Regions from separate parts of the Homo sapiens genome. Here region 1 is linked to region 2. The links are contacts of gene promoters, found by promoter capture Hi-C in human tissues and cell types (Jung and others, 2019). All regions are on one chromosome and are shown on one strand. Each heading gives the region's core, a stretch centred on a gene start or on the middle of the fragment in contact. The rest is flanking DNA. Distances are from core to core; before and after follow the strand shown. Region 1 overlaps MTHFR (methylenetetrahydrofolate reductase). Region 2 holds the start of C1orf167 (chromosome 1 open reading frame 167).

What was found. The method cuts DNA at HindIII sites, captures the fragments that hold promoters and counts their contacts. A contact is called where the count stands out against the background at its distance.
Region 1: a contact is called between a fragment that was not itself captured here and the fragment with the promoter of C1orf167 in region 2, in 3 of the 25 tissues and cell types used here (H1 embryonic stem cells, pancreas and spleen).

Annotation. Positions count from the first base shown.
Region 1 is chr1:11,795,579-11,799,478 of GRCh38, reverse strand. MTHFR (methylenetetrahydrofolate reductase) reads left to right here. Exons shown (of 12, transcript NM_005957.5): 5 at 3,080-3,273. Among named protein-coding and RNA genes, the nearest start is that of MTHFR, 8.4 kb to the left of the region's middle. The HindIII fragment of the contact is 7,275 bases long and covers 1-3,900 here.
Region 2 is chr1:11,760,360-11,764,546 of GRCh38, reverse strand. C1orf167 (chromosome 1 open reading frame 167) reads right to left here and starts at 2,354. Exons shown (of 21, transcript NM_001010881.2): 1 at 2,242-2,354; 2 at 77-216. The coding sequence starts at 146. It also overlaps the pseudogene LOC101060126. The HindIII fragment of the contact is 8,265 bases long and covers 1-4,187 here.

The sequences.
Region 1 (3,900 bases), core at 1,059-3,558, 35 kb before region 2:
GCTTCCCACTGCACATCTGTGCTTCATCTGGGAGACCTGATACCCATGCTTTTCCACACACCTGGCCTGCTCCTGAGTGTGCAGAGTGTCAGTTCCAGCCAGTTCCCCAGGCTAATGGACAGGCCTCCGTTCCAAATTCCCAGGAAAGAGAATCACCATTGGCCACAGCCACAAGACCAGGTTCCCCCAACAGAAATGGGTGGGTTGGACTTCTCTCCCACCCTTGAAGCTGAAGGCTGGCATTGAGCCCTCAGCGTCTCAGACAGCGCTCAGGTATGGCAAGACAGTGTGCACCAGGGACAGGAAGTCCCGGGATTGGCACATTTTCTGGGATGACAGTTTTTTTGCCAATATTCTGGGAGAAATCCTACCATTTTTATATTAAACATGGCTATGTTATGGAGTAGCATCTAAAGTGATATGAACTAAAAAAAAAAGGCCAGGTGCGGTGGCTGAAGCCTATAATCCCAGCACTTTGGGAGGCCAAGGCGGGTGGATCATGAGATCAGGAGTTTGAGACCATCCTGTCCAACATAGTGAAACCCCGTCTCTACTAAAAATACAAAAATTAGCCGGGCATGGTGGCGCGTGCCTGTAGTCCCAGCTACTTGGTAGGCTGAGGCAGGAGAATCGCTTGAACCCAGGAGGCGGAGCTTGCAGTGAGCCGAGATCGCACCAATGCACTGTAGCCTGGGCAACAGAGCCAGACTCCGTCTCAAAAAAAACAAAACAAAAAACCCAAAAAACAAACCACGTGGCTTCAAGAAAATTACATGTTGTGAGTAACTTTGGCCTTGTCCCTAACCCCCGATGGACATGTCCATTCTGTCAACAGGGGTGTTTAGGTGCTAAGTCTGGGAAGCACTGATTAGGAGTCAGAGAACAGACATTTCCAACTGTTAAATTGTCATCGCTTGTATCAGCCATTATATAGTCAGTTACTGGGGGAATATGCACCCGTGATGGGCGTTAGGTGATAATGATTGGAAACTAGTGAAGCTGTGAGCTCACAGTTGCTGAATGGTTTCTTACTTTGCTTATCAAGTGGGTAATGAAGATGAGTGGATTAGAAAACACCAACCTGTTGGGCATGGTAGCTCATGCCTGTAATCCCAGAGCTTTGGGAGACTGAGGCAGGAGATCAAGACCAGCCTGGGCAACACAGTGAGACCGTGTCTCTACAAAAAATAAAAACATTTTAAAAAAGAAAGCCCTCAGCTGTTCATGATAGAAAAATAGAGTAAATAGCAAAATCTATACGTAATCAAATGCTAGATTTGTTCGGTGATATTTAGGTATTGTAGCTATACTTTTCAGCTATTAAAAAGCCTTGTTGTTTCTGAAATTCCTACTGGGAAAATAGCTTTGTTATTGCAAGTGTGAAGCCCCATTGCTTTATCCCCCACTCCCTTACCCCTTGAAACAATAGTTTTTATATTCATTTTTTGATGACTCTGGGTTTCTTAAGAACGGAACTGCCTTATCAGAGCAAAGCAGCTTGGCCTTCCGCCTGGCTCAGAGTCCTGCCCTGGGCTTGGGCTGATGAAACCAGCACTCCATGTAGTTTCATGAAGGCCTATGGTCATCCTGCTTGCCTGACCGAGCAAGGCGGCTAGTAAGTTTAGTCATTGAGGAAAGGGGTCAGAGAGTTCACAGAGCCAGTAAGGAGCCTATGGGACATCTGATCCCACCTCCTAAGCAATTCTGGAATCTTGTCTTCAGCATCCACTGCCCCTGTGTTTTCAGACTCCAGGAGCTCATTGTTTTGTGAGTGGCTTATAGTACTCTAGCCAGCTCTCTGAACCGGATGCTGGTTCTGCCATTAGAAACAACACAGAATATGACTAATAAAGAACTTCACTAGGGGGCTGGGTACAGTGGCTCATGCCTGTAATCTCAGCACTTTGGGAGGCCAAGGTGGGAGGATTGCTTGAGCCCAGAAGTTCCAGACAAACCTGGACAAGATAGCAAGACCCCATCTCTAAAAAATAAATAATTAATTAAAAAAATTTTTTTTAATTAGCCAGATGTGGTGGCTTGCATCTGTAGTCCAAGCTACTCAGGAGACTGAAGTGGGAGATCACTTGTGCCCGGGAGTTCAAGGCTACAGTGAGCCATGATTGTATCACTGCACTCTAGCCTGGGTGACAGAGCAAGACCCTGTCTCTGAAACAAAACAAAACAAACTCACCTATGGTGGATCCTTTTTCCCCAGGACAGACCTTTGGACATTTGAAAGGAGTTTCTGTATTCTTTTCATTCTTTTTTTTTTTTTTTTTTTTGAGACGGAGTTTCGCTCTCGTTGCCCAGGCTAGAGTGCAATGGTACGATCTCGGCTCACTGCAACCTCTGTCTCGTGGGTTCAAGCAATTTTCCTGACTCAGCCTCCTGAGTAGCTATTACAGGCATACACCACCACACCTGGCTAATTTTTGTATTTTTGGTAGAGACGGGGTTTTACCATGTTGGCCAGGCTGGTCTCGAACTCCTGACCTCAGGTCATCCTCCTGCCTTGGCCTCCCAAAGTGCTGGGATTACAGACATGAGCCACCGCACCCTGCCATCCATTATTTTCTTTGAAGAAAACATCACTTTCTTCAGTTCTTCCTTGTGTAACTTGGTTTTTAGCTTTTCACTATCTTGGACCCCTGAGTAATTTCAGTGTTACATTAAAAACAATGTTTAATCCGGTGCCTAGAGAAAAGTCAAGCTTACTACCCCAGATGCTGCCCAGCCAGTGCTAACTGTAGCATTTTCTCTTTTCTATGGCCACCAAGTGCAGGCCTGATTTGCTTGGCTGCTCAAGGCAGGACAGTGTGGGAGTTTGGAGCAATCCACCCCCACTCTTGGAACTGGGCTCTGAGCCACCTCCCCTGAGAGTCATCTCTGGGGTCAGAAGCATATCAGTCATGAGCCCAGCCACTCACTGTTTTAGTTCAGGCTGTGCTGTGCTGTTGGAAGGTGCAAGATCAGAGCCCCCAAAGCAGAGGACTCTCTCTGCCCAGTCCCTGTGGTCTCTTCATCCCTCGCCTTGAACAGGTGGAGGCCAGCCTCTCCTGACTGTCATCCCTATTGGCAGGTTACCCCAAAGGCCACCCCGAAGCAGGGAGCTTTGAGGCTGACCTGAAGCACTTGAAGGAGAAGGTGTCTGCGGGAGCCGATTTCATCATCACGCAGCTTTTCTTTGAGGCTGACACATTCTTCCGCTTTGTGAAGGCATGCACCGACATGGGCATCACTTGCCCCATCGTCCCCGGGATCTTTCCCATCCAGGTGAGGGGCCCAGGAGAGCCCATAAGCTCCCTCCACCCCACTCTCACCGCACCGTCCTCGCACAGGCTGGGGGCTCTGGGTGGAGTGCTGAGTTCGCTGAGTTCTTCCCAGATCTCCTCTCAGGTCCAGAACTTGCACAGCGTTGCTTGGCCACCCCATTTTGGTTACCTCTAATTTTCCCCCCAAAACCCAGCAACAGTGTCTGTTGAGGGGTTTGTTGTACTTTGGCCAACAAGCATCACCAAAAGGGATTCTAATTCTCATTACAAATCCTGCTTAAATCAGTGTTTCCCAAAGGTGGCTGTCATCAGAACCACTTGATAAGCTTTTTCAAAAAGTGGATCTCCAGGTCCCACCCCTGGAGGTTCTCACTCAGTAAATCTGAGGGAGGTCCTCGGAATGTGTGTTTTACTTCTTGAGCTTGGCAGGTGATTCGGATGATCAGTGCAGCATGGGAACAGCTGGGTTAGATGACACCATGTTACCAACAGACACATCTAGGGCTAAAAGGCTGGCTCAACCCAAGGCTGGAATGCTTAGGGCAGCTGCTCTACTCTGTAAAAAGTGGGAAAGCTGGGCATAGTGGCACGTGCCTGTAGTCCCGGCTACTTGAGAAGCTGAGGCAGG
Region 2 (4,187 bases), core at 1,105-3,604:
GAGGGGGGCTCTGGGCCAATACCTAGAGAGGGCCCTGCTCCTGTAACTGCCCATCCAGGCCCACTAAGCCTCTTGCCTGGCTTCGGGAGCGCTGCAGGCTTTGGGGACACATTCTCCTTGTGGCTGGCATCAGACCTTAGCTCCATGGGCTCAGGGACAGGAGTATCCTTGGTCCACTCCACAGTGAGTGGCCTGGTCTGTTTAATCAGATGGGCCCTGCGGGGAGAGGACAGGTTGCCCTGGCTCTCATTCAACCCCACCCCATTCTGATCCCTACCTCCTCCCTTTAGCAGTACTCCTAGCTGCTCTTGGCCTGGTCCCAGCTGCCTGGGGCCTGCCCCTCACTGTTCTGGTCTCTCAGTGGCTCCTCTCCCTGCCCTACTTATCACCCCCCTTTCCATATTAAGTGTCCAGGTCAAATGCTGCCCCATCCTGCCCCCCAGACCTCTCGGCTGATCTGCATACAGGTCTGAACATGCAGGTCCAGCGACCTCCTCCACGCCTACCCGGATGTCTAACAGGCATCTCAGCATTAATATGTCCAAAACTGAACTCCAGCCGTCCTCGCAACCAGCTCTCTCCCATCTTGGTGCCCCCCTTTTCCACGGATGGCAGCTCCGGCCTTCTGGTGGCTCAAACAAAAATCCTGGAGCCACCCCGATTCCCCTTCTCCCTCACACCAGTGGCTGCTCTGACAGGCTCTGCCTCCCACACGCATCCAGGATCTGACCCCTGGAGCACTGGGCGGAGTGGCCCTCACCTGCCACCTCCCAACTGGTCACCCTTATTCTGCCTCGTCCTCACGCCCGACAGCCTCCTCTTCATGCGGCGGCAGGGTGATCCTGTAAACACTGAAATCAAATCATGCCCTGCCTCAACTCTAATGCCACAGAAGCTCTCCAGCCCCCTCAATGCCCCGTGAGCCTTCAAGGCTGTAGGCCAGAGGTTAGCAAATTACTGCCTGGGCCAGTGGTCTATTATGTGAATAAAGTTATATTGAAACAAAGCCCATTTGTTTACAGACTGTCTGCTTTCCAGCTGCAATAGCAGAGCTCAATAGCTGCAAGATACCTTAGGCTGCAAAACCTTTTTTTTTTTTTTTTTGAGCCGGAGTCTCACTTTGCCACCCAGGCTGGTACAATGGCGTGATCCCGGCTCACTGCAACCTCCGCCTGCCTCCCTGGGCTCAAGGGATCCTCCCACCTCAGCCTCTAACAAGCTGGAACCACAGGCACATGCCACCACGCCAGACTAATTTTTCTATTTTTTGGTAGAGACAGGGTTTCACCATGATGGCCAGGATGGTCTCGAACTCCTGACCTCAGGTGATTGGCCCGCCTCGGCCTCCCAAAGTGCTGGGATTACAGGCGTGAGCCACCACACCCAGCCCCGCAAAGTCTTTAAAATCTGGCTGCCAGTTATGGTCCTCCCCAATTCCTCTTCCCCTTGCCCACTGTCCTCCACACACACCAGCCCCCTGGCTGCTCCTCCAAATGGCACACACGACCTCACCTCAGCGCCTCTGTGCTGCTGTCCCCTCTGCCTTCAAGTCTTGCCTCCCACATCACAGTGAGCCCTCCCTGCCCACTGTCTCTCCAACTGCAGCAACCTGGCCTCTCCTCACTCTCTTTGCCCTGCACTTGCGGCCACCTAACATAGTGAAGAAATTAGTGTATTTCTCCCTCCAGTGGCCTAGGAGCCACACGAGGGCAGGCTGGTTTTTTTTGTTTGTTTGTTTCCCTGCTGGATTTGCAGCCCATAGAACAATGCCTGACCCCCAGCAGGGGCTTGTAAATGCACATTGAATAAATGACAACCGTGCTAGGCACCTTGCAGCCTTCAGCAGGCGTCCTGCCATTTAATCTGCACTGCAGCCCTGGGACTTAGGTTCCCTGTTTTAGAAATGAGGACAGGAGCTTAGAAGGGCCTGTCCCACCCAAGGCCTCAGAGGGAGCACCCCAGGGCTGGCTCCACAGCGCAGACTCCTAACCAAGAACACCCCACCATCCCCTCTTGCCCAAGTTGACTTGAGGCCGCTCAATCCACAGGAGACCTTCCTGCACCCCTGCCCCTCACGCCGGAGCTCTTCGGTCCATTTCTCCGCTCCTCGTCCGTCTCCCTCAGACTCCCCCCTCCCACTCCACCCCCACCCCTGTCCACTTAAGGGGGCTCACAGCCTCCCTCCTCTTGCCACCAAAAGAGTCTGAGGTCAGTTTCCTGCCCTCATGGATCTGCCCTCACGTGCGTGGGTCCTCCTCGGGTCCTCCTTCACCCAGTCGGATTTGAATCTAGACGGGGGCTGGGACCGCTAACGATCCCCGCAGGTCGGCAGGTCGCGGGCGGGAGGGGACGTCGGAGAGCAGAGCGTGCTGCCCCGCGCTTGGCCCCGCCCAGCCCTGAGCCGTGGGCGTGGCCACCGACGTCCTGGTACAGGTTTTGCCGGGTCCTCCGCAGGCAAGGCACGTGGTCCCAGGGCAACTTTTGCACGTGCAAGATGAGCGACATTCTCTTGGCCATCAGGTCCCCGGGAACCTCCTCCACCCTCTGCCCCGAATCCTGTGGCAGCATCACTGGGGTCTGGGCTTCCTCCACCAGGCGTGCCTCCTCTTGGCTCCTTCCCGCACCTAGAGCTGCCTCCTGGAGCCCCCGCACATCTGGGATACCCCCAGCCATGTCCCCACCACCTATGCCTCTTGGGGCTGCAGGACATGCCCCCGGCTCCCACTGGTAGGAACCCCAGGGGCAGGACATCCGGGTCATGGACACTCACATCCTCACCCGTTCCCAATAGGTGCGATGTCCCATCCAGGGATGTCTCAGATGCAGCTGGCAAACCATGGCCCTCATGGCTGAGGACACACCCGTGATGGGACCCCAGGATCTGGGGGGCAGCCACCACCCTGATCACCACCTGGAATGCCTCATCCTGGACCTCCTCCAATGAGCATGTCCCCCAAGGGGTCTCGGTCTGGATCTCCCATGGGTCACTCACGTCCTATGCCTCCATGGTATGTGTGGACCTCCTCCACCGATGCTGCCTCATGGATACACTGGCCCTCCCCAACACCCACCCTATGGCTTCCGGGGGGGACTCTCCCTCCACCCAGACCCACTCCGGGGCCTCCAGTTCCCCCTCAAGGCCCACTTTGGGGCCCTCTCCCTCAGTAAATTCACATTCTTCTTCCTCCTGTTATATCTTCCCAATATCTTTTTGATTCCTTGGACCAGAGATGCTGCAGCTCCTTGCAACTAAGGCACAAATCCCTTTCAGCCTTCCCATCTTCCTTTTTAATGCCATTTTTTTCCCCATAGAAGGTATTTCTTTTTCATGTTGGTCCTAAGTATTTTGCAAATGCAAAGGAAAATAAAACTATAACAAATTTCTTGTTAAAAGAAAGAAAGAAAGAAAGGCTAGGCACAGTGGCTCACACCTGTAATCCCAGCACTTTGGGAGGCTGAGGTGGACGGATCACAAGATCAGGAGTTCAAGACCAGCCTGGCCAACATGGTGAAACCCTGTCTCTACTAAAAATACAAAAATTAGCCGGGCATGGTGGCGGGCACCTGTAATCCCAGCTACTCAGGAGGCTGAGGCAGGAGAATCACTTGAACCTGGGAGGCAAGGGTTGCAGAGAGCCAAGATCCTGCCATTGCACTCCAGCCTGAGCAACAGACCAAGACTCTGTCTCAAAAAAAAAAAAAAAAAAAAAAGAAAAAAAGAAAAGAAAAGAAAAGGCTGGATGTGGTGGCTCATGCCTGTAATCCCAGCACTTTGGGAGGCCGAGGCAGCCGGATCACTTGAGGTCAGGAGTTCAAGACCAGCCTGGCCAACATGGCAAAATCCCATCTCTATTAAAAATACAAAAAGTAGCTGGTGTGATGGTGTGCACCTGTAATCCCAGCTATTCAGGAGGCTGAGGCAGGAGAATTGCTTGGACCTGGGAGGTGGAGGTTGCAGTGAGTGGTGATCATGCCACTACCCTCCAGCCTGGGTGACAGAGTGAGATTCTGTTTCAAAAAAGAAAAAAAGAAAGAAAAGAAAAGAAAAAAAAGAAAGAAAAACTCTCCCAGCCTTCAGGCACCTCAGAAACTGGCTGGACTCCACCTTAATACCCAAGCTTTGCCGTGCCGTCAGCCTAGCTCGATCACACTTCCTTCAAGGCTGCAAAGGTCCGTCCACTTTCCAC